Regions from separate parts of the Homo sapiens genome. Here regions 2 and 3 are each linked to region 1. Evidence: promoter capture Hi-C in 16 types of primary human blood cells and fetal thymus (Javierre and others, 2016). All regions are on one chromosome and are shown on one strand. Each heading gives the region's core, a stretch centred on a gene start or on the middle of the fragment in contact. The rest is flanking DNA. Distances are from core to core; before and after follow the strand shown. Region 1 holds the start of PLCB4 (phospholipase C beta 4). Region 2 overlaps PLCB4 (phospholipase C beta 4). Region 3 overlaps PLCB4 (phospholipase C beta 4).

Region 1 (4,723 bases), core at 1-2,500:
AGGCGGAGTGGGGAGGAGGGAGCCCTCCGGAGTTCGGGAGCAGCACGTTGTGAGGGTCCACACAAGGGTGATGCCAGACCGAACACCATTAGGGCCTGGGTGTGAGTGTGACTCGGAGGCACCTGGGGGCCGTTGTAGGGCCGGGAAAAGCCAGGAACTGGCTGGAGCAGCACCCCAGCATCCCAGGGACCAAAGTCTGGGGGATTTGCATGTCTGAGGTTGCACTTGTGGGAAGACTTTTTGGAACCACTTAATCTCTGTGGCTCTGTGTAAGACCCGCGAAATAAAAAGAGGCAGTAGTACTCTTTGGAAGATTGTTTTAGGGATTAAATGAATAAAAAGCGTTTAGAACACTGCAGGACGCATTGTAGGCGCTGTATGGGTTTATGAAACCGAATATAAACAAATAAGCACGTCCCCCACCCAGCCAACGGCTTTGGGGGCCCCGTTCTGGCCAGTCCTGAGCCCCTCCACACGGCCCACGGCGGGCTGCGGGTCTCCCATCCGAGGAGGGTGCCGCTTTTCTGCCCCCGCTCCCTGGGTTCTGCGCCCAGCGCCATCCCGTGCGCCCCCGACCCTTGGGCATGGGGCACATGCCGCGGGGAGCCGCCAGGGAGACCCCAGAGGAGCGCGCCGCGGGCCGGCTTCCCCGGATGCCCCACCCACCTCCTCTTGGCGCTGCCCACCACCTGCCTCGGCTGCTCGGCCCCCGGCTCGCGAGGCTGCGCCCCCGACCCAGTCGGCGCCCACTCCTCGCCCTGCGGGCTCGCGGCAACTGGGCGGCCGGCCCGGCCCCTGCCCACCCCCAGCCCAGCCCGGCGCGCCGCACTGGGCATGCTCCGTAGCCTGGGCAGGTTGGGGCTGCGAGGCGACAGCTCGGGCTCTGGAGCCGGGAGGCGAGAACGAGGAGGGAGGCTCGGGGGCAGGGGAGGAGGAAGCGGCTGGCCGCTGAGGGGCGGCGGGGCCCGGAGCGGGGGACGCGCAGGGCCCGGCGGTGGGCGGGCGGGTCGGCGCTGCCCCGTGGGCTCGCTGGGGAGCCACGGCGGAGACCCCCGCCCTCAACTGAGGTAAGGACCGCGCGGCGCGGAGACGGGGAGGCGGGGAGGCCAGGGAGGGGGTGCGGAGGCAGGCGGGAGGGCGGGACTGGGGTGCGCCGGGAGGGGGCTTGGCGGCGGCTCTTTATGGCGAGGAGGGGGTGGTGGCGCCGCGCCGGGAGCAGTAAGTGAGCTGCACCGCCAACAAGATCTCTCACACACAGACACACACACGCACACGCACACACGGGCGCGCACACACACGCGCGTACACACTGGGTCTCCAGGCAGCGGCCGTCGCCGCATCCCCGGCAGCAGCTCCAGGCAAAGTGACAGGTAGGAAAAGGCATTTCGGGTCCCGCCCGAGGATGCTCCCGCCCGCCTTGGCCCTCAGGGCTTGTTTGCTTTCCGCGGGTGCGTCCCGGACGCGCGCGCGCGCGCACCCGGATGCCCAGCGGGGACCCCGTGCAGGTGCCGGGTGCCAGGCGCCCTGTGCGCGCGGGAGGCAGGGGACCCAGACGCCATCCCCCTTCCCCTGCAGTCATCGCCTGCTGGGTTTCCTCAGACTCTCTCCAGACGTTCACCCTCTTCTGGGCTAGAAATAGCTCGGCTCGACGTGTATATGATTATTTTGGTTGGAAATAGTTGGCACCGTGCAACGCATGTAAATGTGTATGCGTGTGGATCTTCTTGCCTCTTCTGGGGAAATCATAGAAATGATTGACCGTTTCCACTTAAAACAACACTGACAGGCTTAGCACTCATTGGGGGCAGGGTTCGGGCCTCCTAAAAGCCTGTTAGTGAAGGAAATCCTTATTTTCAGAATTTTAAAGTTGCTTTTGCTTTAACCAATTAGACTCTGTATAGTACAATACTTCTGAGTGTAGACTTCGTATATGGTACTGAATCGAAGTATGGAAATATGGAATTCTCTAATTTCCAAGTGTGTTTAAGTGCAACTTTATCTAGAATCATAAAACTAGCATTTTCCTAGAGAGAAATACAACTGCCCACTATAGTTTCCATAAATATGGATATATCTGAAAGATGACCCTACTCTTCCAACTTTTTTTCCTCTTAACTTCTGTAGTGATTCTAGCTATTGTTCTAAAACATGTATTTGAAATTTAATTTTGGCCAGAATATTCAGGAAAGGTGTTTTTTTTTCCATATACGTAATACTTAGTGGTCTATATATTTAAGTTATAGGTATGTGGAGATAGCTGTTTAATAATTCTTTTTGTCTGGAAATAACGTTATTCAAACATAGGCAGCTATGTATCATTTTAAAATGATATTGAATTTCCCCTTAAAGAGAAATCAGATTTATAATGTAAACATGACCAGGAAAAGCAACTGGTGACTTTACCTGGGGAGGCTCCAAGGAGGTTAAGAAAGTATCTGAACAACTGTGTTTTTCAGAATAGAAAAATTGTGTGTGTGTTGCGGGGGAAGGTAAAATTTTAACTTTATTCTTTTATTGTTTTCAAGACGGCTGTTTTCAGAAATGTGTGGTTGAACTGAGACCCTCATATTTTATACTCTTCAAATTTGAGTGGCCTCAGTTATAGAATCATACAGAAGATCAAAAGTCTAGCTCAGCAGGGGCATGTGGTGTAATCCCTCACTATCTGTGTTATGTAATCCAGAATGCTGTTTTTCATAGGACAGTCTTGCATGATCCTTAGCTGGTGTATTGATCTATTATATCATCTTCCTTTTGAACTGTAGTAGTTTAATAAATGATTGCCATCTTTGGAGAGCACCTGTTTTCATAAAAAATCACTTTTTGAAATGGCAAAACATTTTTATTGGCACTTTTATGAACGTAAGACTTGCTGCCAGACGAGTAACCTTTTGAATGTGACGTATTATAACATATCTAAAGGTACCATGTATTAGCTTATGGACTACACTTCCTTCCAACTATATTATTACTCAACAGTTGGAACTTAGTTTTGATGGTATTACTACCCAGCTCTGAATTAATCGCTGTTGAAAATGCTGTTCTACAAGTAACTGTCAAAACAGAATTTCTAACTCCATTTGATCACTGGGTGCACATTTAAATCTGTCGGAATAACTCTACCTTTATTTTGCAAATGCATACCCACGCAGAAAGCTTTGTTCTAAAATACTCTATTGGAAGTTTTATATTTATATGCCTGAAAATGTGAGTGATGTTAAACTGCTTACATGTCCTGGAATCGTGAGGCGGTGTGTTTTTGCCTTATGAGATAAAGAAATATGGTAGTTGAAAAAGTGTTACAGGTTACCAAAAACCTTTTGCAGGAAAAGATTTTAAAAATTTGTATCACCTCTGAAATATTTCAACCACAGCAGAGTCCATTCAGTGCCCGTAGCACAGCTAGTTTGCCTTTCCCAAGATTACACACAACTGTCTTTAGATTAATGTATACTGCTGACTTTGGCAACATGGGACAGTTATATTTGGCAATTTCAGTAAACATGGTATTTTCCTAAGATACCACTAACTTCATTTTGGGGTTTGATTTATTAAGAATTGAAATGTTTGCCTGGTATTCATCTTTACCTCACCCTCTAAGTAAAATTGAGGTAAAAGTGAGCTTCAGGGCTGCTGTGCTGTTTTCCTTGTGATCACATTAGCATGCTAATTTGTGAAAGGATGTAACAATATAAGTGAAATTAGCTTCTGAGTTTAGTGTCTGAATTTTCATCCCCAGTTTTTCAGATGTAGCTGGAAAACTCAAATAACAGAATTAATGAAAAAATTTTGCAGATTATTAAAAAAAATTAGTAATTAGCTGAGTTTGATTTTTTATTTTGAAATCTTGAGAGTAAATTTTATCTTTTCGGATTAGAGCACTTAGGTAATGTAAGAAAGATTTTGGATTTCTCATGCTCTCCACACTTAATAGTAAACTATTTTTGAGGAAGTATAAATTTTCTTTGAAACTTAAAATTATTTAGCAGGCTGTGACTAAATTTTTGTTTGTGATCACTTATAAAGTAAGGGTGAAACAGCATGTTGATTAGCACCGCCGACCCAGGTCTTTTAATAAACTGTCTATCTACCACAGTTGAGTCCCTGTAAAACCAAGAACTTCTGTATTTGATATGCAAAATTAGGTCAAGGACTAATGGAGATGCTTTAATGATCACAGTTGGTATTTTATGTCCAGATTGAAGTTTTTAAAATAGTTGCTTTTCACCTCATAATATATGAATGTGTAGGCCATATTAGTGTCTGTCAAGGAGACTTATCTGCCTGTTGGGAAATAAATACAGCTTTTCATCGCTGGTGGGAGGCAGCAGTGACTTTCTGTGGTTTTGCTGTTGGTTTTCAGATGTGAACTGTGTTTGCAAGGACACTGCTTAATTCTCAGTGCTGTCCATTCCACATTTTCCTATTTCCCTCTCATATTGGGAAAATGAATAAACTTGTGTAGCTCTTTCTTCTATTCCTTAGTATTTGTTTGTTTAATAGTTTTGCTTTTGATAAAGCCTCACCCTTTAAAGTAGAAATACTTTCTCAAATTGTAATATTATTTATCTAGTTATGCCTTAGAATGATATAAAGGTTTTACATGTTCCTAGGCTGTGATTCTTTAGCTAACCAAGTATAAAAATGAGTTTACTTCCTTGCCAGTGGAGGCAGACCTGGGTGATTATGCATTACTGAGTGGATGAGTGTGATGTTTACATTG
Region 2 (4,889 bases), core at 362-2,861, 77 kb after region 1:
TTCAAATAAAATTAAGTCCCAGAGAACAAGGCCATACACATACGCAGCCAAAAGATCATTCATGTAACATTGCCTAAGACTTCTCCATGGTGTCAGTTAGGAGGATGTTTAAAATCAGTGGCAGAGCTATTTTCCTAGCTCTGCCTAAAAGTGCCGGAGGTATATTGTGTTTTCAGTCTGGGATCCAAAGCCATGTGAGAAGAAACATCAGAGATGAAGGCTTTTTTGGTTTTAAACCATCTTAGCTGTGTTTGCACTCATTTCTGTCCTCATTAAAGAGGACAACTGGGGTAACTGAGATAGTGAAATGTATCCAAGGTGAAAGTGAGTGAAAACAAAAATATTTCTCCAGTATGTTTTTGTGATGAGAAGCAGGAAATCTGAACCACTGAGCTCTTAAGAAAGTCCTTCACTGCACCTTTGTTTCCTGTGTCAAAGAGGCCACATTCATTACATAGCACAATTCTTGGAGTGAATCCTTCACTCTCAACAAATGAGTTAAAATGTTTTTCTCTAAAAAATAAAAGATGCATCTTCAGCAAATTTTATTTTTATTAGGAAAAGCCACTACTGCATCCTACTTTTATTCTGGGTGTGTTTTATATTTTTGACAAGTGCTCTCACATCAAAAAAATGTGTCTACATTAATTCAAAATTCATAATGATCACTCTTATCCTGCTGATACAATTATCAAAGTTCTTTTTTTTTTTTGGTCTTCTTTCCCCTGCTGTTGCCTAGTGTTTGTAATTATCTTTTCTTGAGGTTGGGCAGGGGAGAGGATAGGGAGAGAATGTTCAGCAAAAATCAGTCATATATTTAGTGTGGCTTCCCATTCGTTCATTTCATCTTCCATCTATCCATTTATCTTTCCATTCACGCACCCAACCATGCAATATTCATTGATCATCTGTGAGCCACCTAAATTGGAATAGCAAGGATCTCTCCTATCAAAGAGTCTAGAATAAATGCCAGGCATTTACAGTGGGAAAATGTTAATATCAGGTAAATTCTGTCTTGGGGAGAGGTCTTGTGACCTGTTTTTGGGGGTTTTAGGGAAAGCTTCCAGGAAGCAGTACTGTCTCAACTGATACATAAAGGGCAAATTGAAGTTAGCTGGAAGAACTGCATGTTTGGGCTAGAGTGTGGTTAAGCAATGAGGAAGAATTTCCAGCAGAAGAAACTCCATGTTCTAGAGGTCATATTTTATGTGAGGGTTGTATTTCTAAAGTTCTTGCAAATTTGGAACTCCCATGATTCAAAATAATTCTGTCAAAAGATGGTGGATATTTTCATTTACCAGCTAACATGGCCCTGTGGCCACTCTGTAAACAGAGTTTAGAGTTTCCTCTGCCCCAGCCAGCATCAAAACTACAATTCTTGAAGAATTGTTTCGGTGGGGGTGCCTACATAGATCCAAATTAATGTGAGACAATATTAGTGCTTTTGTATCACCTTATTTCAAAGCTGCATGATTCAGGTTCACCTCAAATATGACCAAACTCTGGAGTTTCAGAGCAGTAGCTCATGGCCCATTTGATGGTATTAAAAGTAGATCAGGATGGATAGCATGTACACACAAGACTAGGGGTGAGGGAGAAAGGAGATAAAATGGATAAGGAATCAGGGACCAGGTCAGTGAAGGCTTGTAAACTGTGTTAAAAGGTAAAATAGTCACATTAACATTTTAAAGAATTTATTCGTGTAGATAGTAATTCATGAATTGGGCAGCATCAGGTAGTAAGTGGTTCAGGGCTCCGCTGAAAGGGCACAAGGGGAACATTTTTATAAGGTGTTCTAGGAAGCAAGACAAAAGTATTTGGTTAAAGTGGAAAGTCCCTAGTTAGAGGTTAATTGGTAGTTTCTGACTCTTTACATGGTATTTTGACTCACATTGATTAGGTTTTGGTTTACTTACTTAGGAACCCAAGGTGCCGGAGCCATCTCAGCCTGATGGCTTCTCAGTTAGTTTTTAAAAGCAATTATAATAAGAGGATGGCAATGGGGAGCCTCTGAAGAATGCTGAGGAAGGAATTGGCGAGGTCAGCATTATGCTTTTGTTTAAGTGTAAATAGAAGAGAGCTGAAATTAGACCATATGTGGATTTCAGATATTTTTGGAACATTTATCTTTTATTTCTTATTAAACTTTGCTTATAAACAATGTAAGCTTTTGTGATATCAAAGTCCTCCTCTTAAGGTGTTTTGTTAATTTGCTTTTGAAGAGTCCACTAATCATCTTGTGAGAGAAAATAAAAGACGTGGCCTGATTGGCAAAAAGATTGGATAGAGGTTCAACCCAGAATTGGGGTCTAAGGCTAGGGGAGAATCCGATTAGGGAATCATACTTGGAGGTCTATGGTAAAATAGGTTGTGGGAAATATGGGTTAGACAAAGTTAAATAGACTTCTTTATTGTGGGGCTTCTAGATCCTTAAAGACATTAATGTATGTTAAGGTGCATAGGATGTCATCAACTTGTTTCACAACTAAGGAACCTTTGTTCCAAAAGTAGTCATTACAGTCTGGCTAAGGACTAGTATTCCAAGGAATATGTATCCGTTTCCTTTTGCCACAATAATGCTGCATAATAAGCAACCACAAAACTGCAGTGGAATAGAATAACATATATGTATTTAGCCTGTAAGTTTCGGGGGGTTCAGCTGCTCAATGCTTGACTGATTTCAGCTGATCTCATTCATGTGTCTGTGCTCAGCTATGGGTTGGGCAGGCAGCGCTGGGTTAGTTCATATGTCTAGGGGCTCAGCTAGCTGTTAGCTGACCTAGGGTGGCATAGCTAACATCTATGCTAGATCAGGGTGACTCATCCCTGCTAAATATGTGTCTCATCCTAAGATACTAGACCTAGCATATACTCCTGGCTATGGCAGAGGAGCAAGAATGAGAACAAACTCAGTTGTGCAAGCACTTTTCAAGCCTTTCTTTGCATCATGTGTGCTAATATTTCCATTGGCCAAAGGAAGTCACACAGCCAATTCTAGAGTGAGAATGGCACCACAAAGTTACGTAGCCGAGACTGTGGTTACAGGGAGGGAGAATTGTGCTCTTTTTGCAGTCAGACTATCCTAGATCCCAACTTAGAAATTGCAGGATGAGATTACAGTCAATTGAGCAAGGAATGAGGTCAGACTTTTCTCCATGCCATGGCCACAGGACTGTACTTTTGATACTGATAAGCAGCCTCACAAATAGATGTCTGAGCCATGTCAAGGAAGAGAGAGTTCATCTGGGTCTGCACAGGTCTTTATTGTTTTTCTATGGAATTATTTCATTGAAGGCTGAAAGGATTGTGGACATCATCTAGTTCTAGTTGCATCGTGTTGGCAGTCGTGAAGGAGACAGTCCCAGAGAGGTTAATTGGGCTCCTTCAATCCAAACAGCTATCTAGAAGCAAATCTGGGCCTTGAACCCAGATTCTCAAGCCAATTGAGTTTTAATTACCTCAAAGAAGCTTTGTTGTGGGGTGGAAGGGACTGAAATGTATTTGCAATCTTTATATAGGAACAAATCACATTCCTCCTGGAGGAAATGAAATATAAATGATTTTTGAAATAGGAAGAATAGAGAGTAGTCATGCCTTGTTAGATGTCTCACAAAGGGCAAAGGGTAAGGATAGTTAAGCATTGAGTGATTACTGAAATACTGTGGCTGGAGATCCTTGGTAATAGAGTTTCGTTTTCAGATTTTTTTTTCTCCTGTCTCTTCCCTCGCCCCAAGAATTTCTCCTGCATCAGGGAAGTCAACAGAGGACTTCTGAGCGGAGAGTAAGAATTTGTGTTCTAGCTCCTTCTTTATCAAACAGAAGATACAATTGTGAAGGCAGACCCAGCCTTCTAGAATAGCTGGCACATTAACACCTAACTTACCTGACATTGGTAGGGAACAATCTGTGCTACATAAGTAAAATTTTGATAATGAAATCCTAACCATTTAGCACTGTCAAAGTAGCTGTTTTCGTGATGGAAATATTTCTGGTCCAACAGATGTGTTTCCCTGATTTAATAAACAGAATAATTGAAACTTCCAGCCTCATCCTTTTAGACATCAGTTATTGAACTGTGCAGTAATATAGAAACATGCCTTGTAAAGAGCCATGTAAGTGTAAGGTGTTGTTATTGTTTGCTTGGGTTTCTGGAGTATGTGGGCCACTTGGCTTTAGACAGATCTGCTTTCTAAATTCTTGTATTCCTTGTTTGTTTTCAGAGGGTTCCCTTGCCCTCTGGCCTCCAGGTAGGTGTAGCCAACAGGAAGCACTGGTGGAAAACTGGAGGGCCAGAAGAGAGAGAGGTCAGGGTGCCTTTCTCTGCCTCTCTGCTTTCTTTGGTATCTCTAGGAACACATGTGTCTCTTCCATGTGTCTCTTCCAATCAGCTCTCACCAGACTCCCCTTTTCTCCACAGCAGCCTGATCTCCACGGCTGTTGCCCTGGTCTCTGTCAGTTGGCTCTAGCCTCTAGGCTCTGATAACGTCACATCCTTCCATTATCCCACCTGTTAGGGAAGATAGCAGCTCTCCTCAGTTGCTAGTCTCTGGGCTGCTTCACTGTCCCTCTGTGGTCTGTCAGTCATTCTCACATCTGTAACAAGTCACCTGATTTGAAAGACCTAGAGTAGTTTCTGTGTTCTGGTTGACTTTGACTAATAACGATTTATTGAATTTGCCTTCTCTTGCAACCCTTACTTCCCTCCTGATTTGCTTCTTGCAACGTACTGTGCAGGTGACATCCACGTTATGCAGTTTATTTCATTGGACATAACAATGGAAACTCTTTTAAGCAATAGAGCACAGTGGTTTTGAGCCTGCGCTCTGGTGTTAGAATGTTTGCATCGTAGTCCTGGCTATGCTACTCATTGGCTATGTGACTCTGGGCAA
Region 3 (4,482 bases), core at 1,927-4,426, 100 kb after region 1:
ACCACCAGATACCAAATAACTGCTCAGGTCATTGTTTTTCACTTAATGGACATTGTCTGTCCATAGTGGGCAGTCAGTTTGCGAAGCTCATGACTGAGATGTGATTGAGGGGAATCGACTAGCTGGTGACACTGGCCGCTTTGTGGCTGATATAACTGATGATGTGTGGCTTGTTTTCTCTGGTAGAAATGTGTGGGATTGTCACCTCTGCTGAACTTCCACAGCAGTCTTTTCCAGGACTCGTCATCCTTGGCAGCCCCAACTCCTGCCTGTCAGCCCAAGCAGCCACCAATTAAGAAAGCGTTCAAGCTCAACACCCACCTTTCAAGCTCAAGTCTCCCTTTGCGGTTGCTACAACCACCAAGGGCTCATCCTCTTCTCCTGTCTGCCCTCATGTCCTGCCAATCAGGAGCCTTTTAAATGCATTGAGTTTGATTTGCATCTTGAACCTGAGTCTTCTGTGGCATCCTCTGCCCAATCTGGCTTGCAGGTGCTCCACTTTAGCTCCCTGTGAATTTAAATATAGAAACTTTATTTGTGAGGAGCTGCTTCCTTCCTCTCACTTAACACACAATTTTCCAATGTAATAATCCAGTTTTGGGCATTTGATTTTCATAAAAACTTTCCATGTCTCAGCTTGTGAGATATGTGTCTTGAGTTCTCAATGTAAACACTTTGCCAGTCTGTAATTCCAGCACTCTGGGAGGCCGAAGCAGGAAGATTACTTGAGGTCAGGAGTTTGAGACCAGCCAGGCCAACATGGTGAAACCCCATCTCTTAAAAAAAAAAAAAAAAATTAGCCCGGCGTGGTGGTGCACACCTGTAATCCCAACTACTCTGGAGGCTGAGGCAGGAGAATCGCTTGAAACGGGAGGCAGAGGTTGCAGTAAGCTGAGACCGTGCCACTGCGCTCCAGCCTGGGTGACGGAGCAAGACTGTCTAATAAATAAATAAATAAATAAATAAATAAATAAATAAATACTCTGCCAGGGTTCTAGATACCATGTGAATTGAACTCCTGAAGGGAAGGAAGTGGGCAGTGGGGTGTTGGTGTGATACTCCAAATTCTTCAGTGATTCCTTCCCATTGTACTTTCCTCCACAACATTGTTTGTGAAAATTTCAAACATATAGTAATTTGAAAGAATTTTACAATGAACAGCTGTGTATTCACCTCCTAGATTCTACCATGAACACTTTATTGCCTTTATTATCTGTCCATCCACTTATCCCTCTGTCTTTCACTGTCTTATTTTTGATGGATTTAAAAATAAACTGCAGGCATAGTTTGTATATTCCAGCATGCTTATTATTAACTGGAGTTCAATATTTCTTATCAGTTATTCATACGAAATTTCTATTCGATGAAATGCACACATCCTTACTTGTACATAGCTTGAACTTTCAACAAGTGGACGCACCCAGATAAATCAGTCCTGGCAAGATATAGAACATTACCACCACCGGAGAAAGTTCCTGCATTCCTTCCCCAACCTTTACGTTCTTTTTTGAGTCTCTCCAAAGAAGGATTTACTGATTGCAAGTGATCTGTGGTTAGTTTATTTCTTCAAAATTGTGCTTTGATCAGTTTTATTTCATGCAAGTTACTTTCATACTTAGGAATGCATGTTGTACAACACTTTCTTACAAATTAATATTTAGTTTGTTAGGACTAATTTATTTCTGACAGAACTAAAGTTTTAACAAGAGTAGCTTAGATTATCTGTTTTTTACTTGGTACAGATGTTTTCCAATGACTTTATTGATTCTTATCATGTTTTATGAGATGGCTGGTGAGATAACATAAATAGAGATGCAAAGACATGGAGGTAAACCATGTTCTGAGAGGTTCTTTGGGCTGACACACCTGGTTTCTCTGGATATAAAGAAAAAAAACTCCTCTTTCAGGCAGCTGTTTCCTACGAAGATTGTGTTTGAGGATACAGTAACCTCATCATTTAGCCTGAAATATAAGTTGGTTCACACTGCTTCTTCAGAAACAGAAAGCTCTATCCTTGTAATAATGATAATTCATGACATTCCATGTTTGTGGGCAGTAGTTTCAGTCAGCTTTACCTTCAGGTACCTAACAAGGTCTGGGGTTGATTTGGATCTGCCCTGATGTGGGTTCACAGAGTCGGTAAAACCTCAGCTATCCAGAAAGCTAATTGTCTGAATTGCCAGACTCTCAAAATGGCCTGGAGGCAGAAAGTTAAAATGTACCACAATCTCTTTGGTCATGAAGAAGCAGTTTTTGAATATCTAACATAGCGGTAGGGATATGGTCAAAATGAATGAGTTATACCAGCACCATAAAGTTGTTTAGGGGCTGTAAAGTGCTCACATTGAGTTCTTTGACGGTACCATGAAACTCCCATTTTTGGTTTGCTCCTTTTCACAAATCACTACTTCAGTGGAATATGAGACTCATCTCTGAAAACTCACACAGCTCCTTAAGCTCTTATTCACACCTTGACATAGTTTTTTTGTGTGTGTGTGAATATGATTTATAAACGATGGGTTTATTCAGGTATTTTCTGTAAGAAATCCACATTGTATAACTTGGAGTTACCTATCATATGGTAGGCGCTCAGAAGCTTCTTTTACAGTCCCCTTTAGAATGCTACAAAGAAATATGTAGTGATTTTCAAAGGTACATCATTTAGTAGACAGTTTACGTTTCCTTGCTCACAAAAGAATGCAAGAGAATATTCCAGTAGTTTCAAAAAGTACAGTATGCAATCCTTAGAACCAAACTGCACAAATATTCAGCAGCTGTCTATTCAAAAATTAAAACCAGAGACCATATTTTGTTAGGGCTAATGTATAGTTGTCAAACTATAGACCAGAACAACAAGAATCTGTATGTGCATATTTATTCTAATCTTGTTTTCCAAGTTACTTAATTTATAGTTGCTTTTCTCTGAGAGGAAAGGACAGAACAAGTATTGCAAACACTTGCTACAGTCAGTTTTGGCAAAAAAATAACTCAGAGAGCCATGTTTTAAGAAAAATAAATTCAGGTTATAAATTTAAGCATCATTCTACTGGGTTGCAACAGTATCTGAGACTTCTACTTTGAATATTTCATCTGATGATGTAATTGGAGGCGGCAGAAGCATATTATCTGCATTTATTTGTGCAGTTGTGTATTATGTAAGTGGAGAATTGTGGGAAATAATGACTATTTCCCCCCTCCTCATAATTTTAAGCCTCAATGGAATGGAAAGAAATATCAATCGATCTTCCATATTTGGCAGAGTGCTTGCAGAGGCCACTGTCTCTGCAAACATGATAAACCTCATTTTCCCCTTCCCCTGTCAACTTGTCAAGAACAGAATTAACAGGAGGATTATATTAAGGCAAAATAATTTGGGGTTTTCTGTTTTGTTTTTGTCTTTGTTTTTAAAAGTTACTTCCATGTGTCTGGCCATGTTTCAGTAATAATGTTTGGCACTTTAATAATTCCTTTCATCTGCAAAGAGCAAATTGTTTTTCTGAAATAATTTCATTTTGTAGAATGACTCCATAGAGCAGGTTGACCCCATCCATGATCTAGAATATAAGAATTCATCATATAACAAAGGACCACCATTTAATGCCAGTTTTAGTATGTTTTCAGCTTCAACTAAAAACTTAAGATTCCATAATAAGAGAGAAGTCACCAAGCCAATTCCCTGTTGAGTGGAATATCTTACTCATTTTCTACATACATCCTACCTATCCTTGAAAGTTAAGCATAAAACCTCACCTTGCTGAAGCTTTCCTCACTGCTATAAGTCAAATCCCTGTCCATCTCTCCCTTTCCTGAGTGCATATTGCATTGGCTTATAAACCTTTTGGTGTTACTCTCCTGTGTAGATAAAGACTGTTAATTACTCTCTAATTATATTTTATGTATTAGTCTTCCCATGTCTTCCAATGTAAGTCCTCTTTGCAGAAACACCATCTTAACACTTATTTTGCATTTCCATTCGCATTTCCTTTTCTTGTTTAGTGTTTTGGAAAACTGTCATTTAATAAATATTGTTGGCCGAGTGCCTGAATGTTAAGAGAGGCCACTGTCTCTGCAAACATGATAAACCTCATTTTCCCCTTCCCCTGTCAACTCGCCCTAAGAACAGAATTAACAGGAGGATTATATTAAGGCAAAATAATCTGGGGTTTTCTGTTTTGTTTTTGTCTTTGTTTTTAAAAGTTACTTCCATATGTCTGGCCATGTTTCAGTAATAATGTTTGGCACTTTAATAATTCCTGTTATCTGCAAAGAGCAAATTGTTTTTCTGAAATAATTTCATTTTGTAGAATGACTCCATAGTGCAGGTTGACCCCATCCATGATCTAGAATATAAGAAAAATCTCACTCTGAAGTTCAGTTTCCAAAGACTTGGGAACAGATGATGAACTATGCTTTGCTTGCAGTGCCTCCTGGCTGTAAATATAGGAGCTCTGTCAACTGCTGAACTCTTGGTTGGCCTTGCAA

What was found. The method cuts DNA at HindIII sites, captures the fragments that hold promoters and counts their contacts. A CHiCAGO score of 5 or more calls a contact.
Region 2: a contact is called between a fragment that was not itself captured here and the fragment with the promoter of PLCB4 in region 1, in 1 of 17 cell types (megakaryocytes). The highest score is 5.7, in megakaryocytes.
Region 3: a fragment that was not itself captured here is called in contact with the fragment with the promoter of PLCB4 in region 1 in 1 of 17 cell types (megakaryocytes); the score reaches 10.0 in megakaryocytes.

Annotation. Positions count from the first base shown.
Region 1 is chr20:9,067,837-9,072,559 of GRCh38, forward strand. PLCB4 (phospholipase C beta 4) reads left to right here and starts at 1,251. Exons shown (of 40, transcript NM_001377142.1): 1 at 1,251-1,370. The HindIII fragment of the contact is 10,687 bases long and covers 1-3,154 here.
Region 2 is chr20:9,144,810-9,149,698 of GRCh38, forward strand. The region is part of intron 2 of PLCB4 (phospholipase C beta 4); the gene reads left to right. Among named protein-coding and RNA genes, the nearest start is that of PLCB4, 78 kb to the left of the region's middle. The HindIII fragment of the contact is 1,107 bases long and covers 1,059-2,165 here.
Region 3 is chr20:9,168,645-9,173,126 of GRCh38, forward strand. The region is part of intron 2 of PLCB4 (phospholipase C beta 4); the gene reads left to right. Among named protein-coding and RNA genes, the nearest start is that of PLCB4, 100 kb to the left of the region's middle. The HindIII fragment of the contact is 1,164 bases long and covers 2,595-3,758 here.